Linked DNA regions of Homo sapiens: region 2 is linked to region 1. Evidence: promoter capture Hi-C in human tissues and cell types (Jung and others, 2019). All regions are on one chromosome and are shown on one strand. Each heading gives the region's core, a stretch centred on a gene start or on the middle of the fragment in contact. The rest is flanking DNA. Distances are from core to core; before and after follow the strand shown.

Region 1 (4,826 bases), core at 1,835-4,334:
CTGGAGTGCAGTGGCACGATCTTGGCTCACTGTAACCTCTGCCTCCCAAGTTCAAGCAATTCTCCTGCCTCAGCCTCCTGAGTAGCTGGGAGTACAGGTGCCTGCCACCACTCCCGGCTAATTTTCGTATTTTTAGTAGAGACGGGGGTTTCACTATGTTGGCTAGGCTGGTCTCAAACTCCTGACCTCAAGTGATCCACCCGCCTCAGCCTCCTAAAGTGCTGGGATTACAGGTGTGAGCCACTGCATCCAGCCAATACCATATGTTTTATGTGACTCTTTCCAGAAAAAAATTTGCAGACACAGTGTTTAAAAGATTGGCATCCAATGTATTAAAAACAAATTGAAAACCCTTGTTTGTTCTTAAGCTTTTAAGAACTTGGTCAGTTACACACCTGTGATACCCCCACCATAAACAAGAGTCAGAATATTTCCATCAAGCCCAAAACATTCTCCACACCCCTCTGTGGAATATCCCTCTCTTCGTTCCCAGAGCAAGGGAAACACCGATCCACTCTCTGTCACTATATATTAATTTGTATTTTCTAGGATTTTGTATAAAGAGAATAACACAGTAAACACTCTTTGTGCCTGGCTTTTTATACCCAGCATACCAATTTTGAGATTCATTCATGTTGTATGTATCAGTAGTTTGTTCCTATTGTTATTATTATTGTTGAACAGCCATTATTTATACTCATTCTAAGGCTTCTAACTTCTTGTCCAAAAGCTTTTTTCAACTAGGGAGGGTGAGCTTTGCTCATGGTGTCTATTTCGTGAGCTCAGAGCTGCCTCGAAATGGAATCTTCAGCCTCCCTCATGCTCCTGCAATAGGACCCCATTATTCTTATAAAGCTAACCAATTACACTTACAAATATGGCGAGCTTTAGATTCTCTTGGATATCCTGAAACTGCTTAAACCTCATTAAGATTTCAATTTACTGCCGGCCATGGTGGCTCACACCTATAATCCCAGCACTTCGGGGTGCTGAGGCAGATGGTCGAGACTGGAGTGAGCCATGATCGCACCACTGCACTCCAGCCTGGGCGAGAGAGGAGATCTTGTCTCAAAAACAAAACAAACACAAAAAGATTTTAACTTAAAACCAGGAGTCTGTATCAGTTACTTGATTATACACTTTCAGTTGTTCTTATGAGGAGGGTCTCTTGAGCAACATTCTCTTATACATTTGTAAGTACACAATATACCTAGTATACCCAGATTCCTTTGTATTACAGAAACATTATTATTATGGTTTTAATTTCTTAAAACTTCCATATTAATTCTTACTTTTCTGGGGTGGAAAGATAGGAGGCATTGGGATAGACTATTTCCATCCCAGTTACCTGAAGTGATCTGCTAAGAAAGACAAATGCTGCCCCAATTAATTGAGGTAACTTAGAGTCAAAGATTTTGGCAGAACCTGAGATTTAAAGTTGAAGACATACAGGAATTACTGCCCCTATTGTCATACTAAGCTCCTTTTTGTAAGTACTCTGCCAGGGACTTCAAAGCATTAAGGGTGTCTATTTTGGACTCATAGAACCTAATTCTTATGCAGGTCTGCAGACTTCATCAGAGTCCATCCATTCCTTGATTAGATGATTACATTTGCATCTCTGGTTTATAATGTATTTCCTAACTAAAGATCTTTAACTCCCTAGGATCCCAATAAATATATCTTCATTTACCTATCTATTTTCACTTGCAAATATTTCAGTATATATCTCTAATATATAAGAACTTTAAAAAGTAATCTCAGGCTGGGTTGGGGGGTGCTCAGGCACAGGCACCCAGCACTTTGGGAGGCAGAGGGGGGCAGATCGCTTGAGCCCAGGAGTTCGAGACCAGCCTGGGCAACATGGTGAAACCCTGTCTCTATTAAAAAAAAAAAAATTAAGCCAGACATGGTGGTGTATGCCTGTGGTTCCAGCCACTTGGGAGGCTGAGGTGAGGGGATTGCTTGAATCGAGGAGTTCGAAGCTGCAGTGAGCAGAGATCGTACCACTACACTCCAGCCTGGGTGGCAGAAGGAGACCTTGTCTCAAAATAAATAAATAAGGGTCACCTCAGTGACATAAGTACTTTAGTACATCTAACAGAATTCACAAGAATTACTTGTGAATTGCTTGTACTCTGCCTACCTTCTTATTTCTCCATCTATCTTAAAAAGGTCTTTTTACAGTTTGTCCAATCAGAATTATAATGAGGCCACAAATATGTTGTATTTGCTTGATGTGTCTGTAAGATCTTCGTATCTATTACAATCTCCTGCCCTCTTAAAGCCCTTGATATGTTAAGGAAGCACGGTTGTTTTCTATAATTTCCCATATTCTAGATTTGGCTAATTGTTTCTTGGTAGTACAAAGTCTTCTAAGTTGTTCCTTTACTCTCTATATTTCTGGTAGCAAGTGTGATTAGATTTTGGGTGGGAGGAACCGGGGTCAAGAATGCTTCACAGACAGGTATTTCCTAACTATCAAAGACCCTTGAACTTGATGGGACTTTCCATTTTTCCTTGTTCTGGGGTATTTAATATGGTAACCTGATTGAAGTTCGGATATCTCACATGACTTTGAGCCGAACTTGCAGTCGTAATTCACATAATAGCTAACACATATTAAGTGCTTTTCATGGGCCGGACTCAATGCTAGGCCCTTTATAAATATGTTCATTTAATCTTCTCAATATTTTGCAGATAAGGAAAGTAATGCTTAGAGCGTTTAAGTTGACCCAGTTAGCAAGGATGGTGTGAATTTAGGGGTCGAACTGGAATCCCAATTTCCTTAGTCCCTTTCGCGGTCAACAATTCCCTTCTCCGGTTTTCGCAGTTCCGGTTCTCACAGGGTCCCAACCACTAGGAACCCGTCACTCCTCGCTCCGCCCCCCTTGGCCCCGCCCCACCCTGCTTTGCCCTGCCTCTCCCTGCCCCGCCGCGCCCCAGTCCCTTGACGACCCTCCTCTCTGGGCCCCGCCCCTCCCGCTTCGGGGTCAAGCCCCAGAGAGCGCCGCGAAAACCACATTTCCCAGAGTGCACCGCGACGGCAGGGGTCCTCAGACCGGCGCTCGCTCGCCGGCGCCATCCCTATAGAGAAGAACGGAGGTACGGCCTGTGGTCATGGCGCTGTTCCCAGCCTTTGCGGGGCTTAGTGAGGCTCCCGATGGCGGGAGCTCCAGGAAAGGTAAGCACACAAACGAGCCGAAGAAGGCACCTGGGGGGCTTAAGAGGCTGTTTCTCGGGCCCAGGTCTAGACTTTTGCTTTGGATTTGTGTATCCATTTGTATCCCAGAGTTCTCCGCGGCGCTGCAAAGCCTTCTGGGAAAGGCTCAATCCCTCCGAGGTCTGGGGCCCAGAGGCCTGTTCTGGACCAAGGTTGTAGAGTTATGGAGGGGTGGAGAAAGACCAGCAGATGCCCTGGAGCTGGGACTTCTGTACGATGTTGTTAGGTCCTGTTCTTCTTTTCGAGCCTCAGTTACTTCATCTTTAAATTGGGAATAATGATACTCGACATCTCGAGGAAACCCTTGATGCAAATGCAGAATGTTTTTATTACATATTACTTCCTTTCCTGTTATACTTATTTCTGAAATGCTTATTAGATTGGTATTACTTAGCGGCCTAGAGCTAGGGGATTAGTATCCAAAACCTAATCAGTTTCTCTCTGGAGGGGCACAGCACCCAGTGAAAATAACTAACATTTATTCTTGAGGGCCTAGTGTGTATCAGGTTATGGCTTTACACATTTTACTTAAGTCCCAGACATTTCCAGCAGAGCTGCATTGTTCAAAATTGGGGTACATAGTTCATTTAAGAAGTAATTAATCCTGGCCAGGAGCAGTGGCCCACACCTGTAGGTGGAAGGATAGTTTGAGCCCGGGAGTTCATGACCATCATGATCAACATAGCGAGACTCCTGTCTCTTAAAAAAAAAGCCAGGCGTGGTGGTGCACACCTATAGTATCAGCTCCTCAGGAGGCTGAGGTAGGAGGATTGCTTGAGCCCAGAAGTTTGAGGCCGCAGTGAGCCATGATCGTGCCGCTGCATCCTGCCCTGGGGTGGGGGGACCTTGTCTCTAAAAAAAAAAGAAAAAAAAGTAATTCTAAATTATGTGCCATATGTGACAGGGCGCAATTGAGTCTTACCTGTCTGTTATATCCTCTAATATAGTTCCTACACTTTCTGTAACGTTTCTCCTAATTTTTTTTTTTTTTTTTGAGACAGGGTCTCACTCTGTTGCCCAGGCTGGAGTACAGTGGCACTGTCATAACTCACTGCCGCCTCAGACTCCTGGGCTTAACTTCCTGCCTCAGCCTCATGAATAGCTGGAACTACTGGTGTGCACCACCAGGCCTGGCTAATTTTTTTTAATATTTAGTAGAGACGAGGTCTCACTGTGTTGACCAGGCTGGTCTCGAACTCCTGAGCTCAAGCGATTCTCTATCTGAGCCTCCCAAAGTTCTAGGATTACAGGCATGAGCCACTGCGCTTGTCCTATTTCTCATAATTGTGAGTAATTTCTTGTGTAAAATTGTTGTCTTCCCTTACTAGACTGTAATCTCTATCAGGTTGGGCAGTGTTTGTCTATTCATTGTAGCATAGTTAGCCCCTAGCACAGGTCCAAAGTATAATAGGTGTTCAATAAATATTTTCTGGATGTACAGATCGATAGTAGTTACTTAATAATTACGTGTTGCAGGAATGCATGAGTGCACCTAAAAGAAGTGTATAGTACAAGGTGGGATATTACAGATACCATAGGTGAACTGCAGGATTAATTACTTCTTTTTATTTATTTATTTATTTATTTTTTTTTTTGAGACCAA
Region 2 (5,122 bases), core at 741-3,240, 310 kb before region 1:
TTGTGCTTTTTCTTTCTCTCTCTCTTTTTTTTTTGTTTTGAGACAGGGCCTCACTCTGTCACCCAGGCTGGAGTGCAGTGGTACAGTCACAGCTCACTGCATTCTCAAACTCCCAGCTCAATGGATCCTTCAGCCTCCCGAGTAGCTGGGAGCACAGGCGTGTGCCACCATACCCAGCTCATTTTTGTATTTTTTGTAGTGATGGGGTTTCACCACGTTGGCCAGGCTGGGCTCAAACTCCTGAGCTCAAGCGATCCATGCGCCTCGGCCTCCCAAAGTGCTGGGATTACAGGCCTGAGCTACCGCACCCGGCGTGTACTCCTAAATAATAAAAATTGTGTTTTGCCTGTTTTAAACTTTTGGTAGAAAATGGAATCAGACTGAATATGTCCTTATGCTGCTTGCGTTCATTGCTTAACATCCCGTTCCTGAGGCTCCTCCTTGTTGCACGCAGCAGTGACTCTTTGGTTTGCATGAATGAATAGTATTTATTGTGTAAATGCACTAAGATTTCCTTACTTAGTCTACTGTGAATAGATACGTGGGTTGTTTTCAGGTTTTAGCTATTATGAACAGTGCTTGTAAATCTTCTTTACAGGGCTCCTGGTGCACACGTTCAAGGATTTCTCTATGAGTGAAATAGTTAGGTCGTAGGATTTGTGTATCTTCAACTTTACCAAATAATTCCAAACTGTTTTTCAAAGGGGTTGTATTAGTTTACACTCCCATCAGCAGCGCTCAAGAGCCCTGTGGTTCCATACACCAATACTTGGTGCTGCCCGACTTCATATTTTTGGCAGAATGGTTGCTGGTTAATGATGTCACCTTGTGAGTTTAAGTTGCGCATCCCTCATTACTAATGAGTTTGGACATCTTTTTATTTGTCTATTGGTCATTCACCTTTTCTCTTTTGTGAAGTGTATGTGAAATTCCTTCTTTTTTATTGGATGGTCTTTTCCTTAATAATATTTCTTTATGTATTTTGGTTACAAGTCTTTTTCTTAGTTATATGTGTTGCAGAAATCTTCTCCCAAGCTGTGATTTTGTTTTGCTTTCTCTTCATGATGTCTTTTGATAAACAGAAGTTCTTAATTTTAAAGTAATAGAAAGTAGAAGTCGTTTCCTTTATGGACAGTACTTTCTATGTCTAGTTGAAGAAACCTTTCCCTTCTCCAAGATCATGAAGGTAGTCTCCTAAATCATCTTCTAAAAGCTCTCTTGTGCTATCTTTCACACTGAAACCTAAGGGCCCACCTAGAATGGACTGTTTTATGTGTGTATGGTATGAGCCAGCCAATGTGATTTTCCCCATAGGATATTCAATTGTCCCAGCATCAAACGCTGAAAAGATTCTTTGCCCTGTTGCTCCACAGTTCCACCTTTGTCATCAACCAAATGTCCGCAGTTGTTTCTAAGTTTCCTGTTTTGTTCCATTGGCCATCGTGCCAGTCCCATGTGATTGCCACTGTCTTGTCACTGTCATAGCTTCATTATATGTAAGGTGGGTCCCTCTCTGTATCCTGCTCTTTAGGTTGCCATGGCTTGTCTTGGGCCTTTGAACTTTCACATAAATTTTCAAATCAGCTCGTCCAGTTCCACAGAAAACTTCTGGAGATTTTGGAATTAGTTTAATTTAATAGCTTAGTTTGGGGAGAATTGTATATTTATGACAGTAGGTTTTCTAATCCATAGCCATTATAGCTCCCTAATTATTTAGGCCTTTACAAGTATTTTTGGATGTTTTTATAATTTTTTAATAAATATTTTGCCCATTTTTTACTAGACTTATTTCTAGTTACCTGAAAAAATTTTTCATGCTTTTATATGCACTATTGTATACAGAATATTTTTGTAATCAAATTTACTATGTACTTGTTGCGAAGGTATAGAAAGGTAACTGGTTTTTGCACATTCTTCTTGACCCAGCTAAATTCTTAATAAGTCTAATGACATATATAACTCAGTTTGGAATTTCTACATACATAATGACTTTTTTTCTGAGGTGATTAAAATTGTTTCTTTTTCTCTAATCTTTCCATTTTTTTAACTTGTCTTACTGTACTAGTTAGGACCTAGTAGTTAAATGAGAAAATTCTTTCAATGTTTTACCATTAAGAATTACATTTAGCTGGGTGCAGTGGTCCACGCCTGTAATGCCAGCACTTTGAGAGGCTAAGGCAGGAGGATCGCTTGAGCTCAGGAGTTCAAGACCAGCCTGGGCAACATTGTGAGACCCCATCTCTAGATAAAAAAAAAAAAAGGGTAGCCAGATGTGATGGCGTGTACCTGTGGTCCCAGCCACTCAGAAGGCTGACGTGGGAGGATCAGTTGAGCCCAGGAAGTCAAGGCTGCACCACTACACTCCAGCCTGGGCAACAGAGCGAGGCCCTGCCTCAGAAAAAAAGAATTGTGCTTGTTACAGGTTTGTTTGTAGGTACTATTTAAGAGATTAAAGAAGTTTCCTTCTTCCTGGTTTATTAAGAGTTGTTTTGTTAATGATGAAACGATAGCAGATTTTATCAAATGCCTTTTCTATATCTATTGAGATGATTATATGACTTTATTCCTTTCATCTATGAATGTTATATATTAATTTATATTTTTAAATGTTAAACTCACCTTGTATACTTGGAATAAGCCCAACTTGATTGTGATAAATTAGCTTTTTTATGGATTCACTTTACTTATTTTTTAGAGAACTTCGCGTTTGTGTACATTTGCAAAATAGGCCTATTCTTTTCCTTTCTCCTTCTGTTCTTGCCAGATTTTGGCATCAAGGTCAGCCCAGCCTCATAAAGTGAGTTGGAGTAGTACTTTTTCTTTTTGCATGTTTTGGAATTATTTGTTCTGAGAATATTAAGTTTTGGTAGAATGCATCTGTAAAACCATGTGGGGCTGGGGGGGGGTTTTTCTCTGTGGGAAGATTTCTGATGCTTTTTAAAAATAATTATAGTCTATTCAGGTCTTCTATTTCTTTTTTTTTATTAAGCTATGTATAATGTATAAGCTGTAATTATATTATATGTAAGGATTTGTCCATTTCATCTAAATTTTAAATTTTATTGGCATAAGATAATTCATAATGTTTATTTTTCATATGGCATTTGTTGGTTAAGTTTTTTTCAATTCTAATATTGTTTAATGCACCTTATTTCTTTTCTTGAATAGTCTTGCCAGATACTTGTCTGTTACATGGATCCTTTCAAACAACCAGTAACTTTTTTGTCAACTCACTTGTGGGTTTACTTTCTCTTTCATGAATTTCTGTTCTCATTTTCATTATTTTCTATCTTCTGTTTTCTCTAAGTTCTGTCTTGTTGTATTTTGGGTTTTTTTTTTTTCTTAATCTCTTAGTTGGGTGTTCATTCATTTTTTGCCTTATTTTCTGACATAAGCATTTAAGACTAAAAATTTTCCTCTAAATGCTGCTGTAGCTGTAAACTACAAGTTTCAATATTTGAAATTTTTATTATTGTATAATTCTAAATATTTTGAAATTTCTGTTATTTTCTTTTTGATCCATTAGTTGTCTTTGAACTGTGTTTTACAATTGTCAAATATGAGTTTTTTCAACTTATCTTTTGTTATGAGCTTTTAACTTCATTAAATTATGTTTAAAGACTATATATACATTTGAAATTGGTCGAACTTATTTTGTGGCCCAGTGGTTACTTCTTGTAAATATTCCATGTGTGCCTGAAAAGAATGTTTTCTGCATTTGTTGAGGAAATTTTTATATGTTTTATTAGTTTGAGTTGTTAATTATGCTATCAGAGCTTTTTTGTTTTTATAGAGGTTTTTTCTACTTTATCATTTGTTGAGAGGAGGTATGTTGAAATCTACCACTGGGATGGCGGATTGGCTTTTTTTTTTTTTTTTTTTTACCACATCGTTATAGCAGTTTTTCCTTTCTATATTTTAAAGCTGTGCTATTAGTTGCATATAAATTTAGAGTTGCTGTGTATTATGGTACATTCAACCTTTTATGATTATGTTGTAAGATACAAGGCATTTTGCTTCAAAGTCTATTTTGTATGATATACATATGGCCACATACATATATATGTGTAGCCATATATCTGTACATATATGTGTGTGCATGTGTGTGAGTATACACACATGTATACATATACACATATATAGACTTGGACTATCATTTTCCATTCTTTTTGAACTTTTTTTTTTTTTTTGAGATGGAGTCTCACTCTGTTGCCCAGGCTGTAGTGCAGAGGCACAATCTCAGCTCACTGCAACCTCTGCCTCCTGGGTTCAAGTGAGTCTCCTGCCTCAGCCTCCTGAGTACTTGGGATTACAGGTGCGCACCACCACACCCAGCTAATTTTTGTATTTTTTAGTAGAGACGGGGTTTCACCATGTTGGCCAGGCTGGTCTCGAACTCCTGACCTCAAGAGATCTGCCTGCCTCGGCCTCCCAAAGTGCTGGGATTACAGACGTGAGCCACCGCACTCGGCCACTTTTTGAATTTTTAAAATACGTTTTGGATGTACTCTTCTGCTTATTATATATAGATAATTTTTTTTTTTTTTTTTTGAGACAGAGTCTGACTCTGTCGCCCAGGCTGGAGTGCAGTGGCGCAATCTCGGCTCACTGAAAGCTCTGCCTCCTGGGTTCACGCCATCCTCCTGCCTCAGCCTCCCAAGTAGCTGGGACTACAGGTGTCCACCACCATACCTGGCTAATTTTTTGTATTTTTAGTAGAGATGGGGTTTCACTGTGTTAGCCAGGATGGTCTCGATCTCCTGATCTCATGATCCTCCCACCTCGGCCTCCCAAAGTGCTGGGATTACAGGCGTGAACCACTGCGCCCGGCCTATATATACTGATAATTTTTTAAAACCCAGGCTTATGGTATCTGGAATATTTAGTTCATTTCTATTTATTGTAAATACTGACATATTTATATTTGTGTCTACCATGCTATTTATGCTTTCTATTTGACTTGCCTCTTGTTCCATATCGTATCCTCTCCTTTTCTGCTTTCTTTTAGATCGATTATATTTTTATGATACATTTTTTCTCTGCTAATATGGAAAAGAAACATTCTCTTTTAGCTCTTCTTCTTTAGTGATTACCCAAGAAATTTTAGTGAGGGTCTATTGCT

What was found. The method cuts DNA at HindIII sites, captures the fragments that hold promoters and counts their contacts. A contact is called where the count stands out against the background at its distance.
Region 2: a fragment that was not itself captured here is called in contact with the fragment with the promoter of NRDE2 in region 1 in 1 of the 25 tissues and cell types used here (hippocampus).

What each region holds. Positions count from the first base shown.
Region 1 is chr14:90,330,199-90,335,024 of GRCh38, reverse strand. It overlaps NRDE2 (NRDE-2, necessary for RNA interference, domain containing), which reads left to right and starts at 3,084. Exons shown (of 14, transcript NM_017970.4): 1 at 3,084-3,184. The coding sequence starts at 3,121. RefSeq lists a silencer at 2,851-3,000 and an enhancer at 3,151-3,330. The HindIII fragment of the contact is 6,388 bases long and covers 550-4,826 here.
Region 2 is chr14:90,635,189-90,640,310 of GRCh38, reverse strand. All of the region lies in intron 15 of TTC7B (tetratricopeptide repeat domain 7B), which reads left to right. Among named protein-coding and RNA genes, the nearest start is that of TTC7B-AS1, 4.9 kb to the left of the region's middle. RefSeq lists an enhancer at 247-761. The HindIII fragment of the contact is 5,972 bases long and covers 1-4,976 here.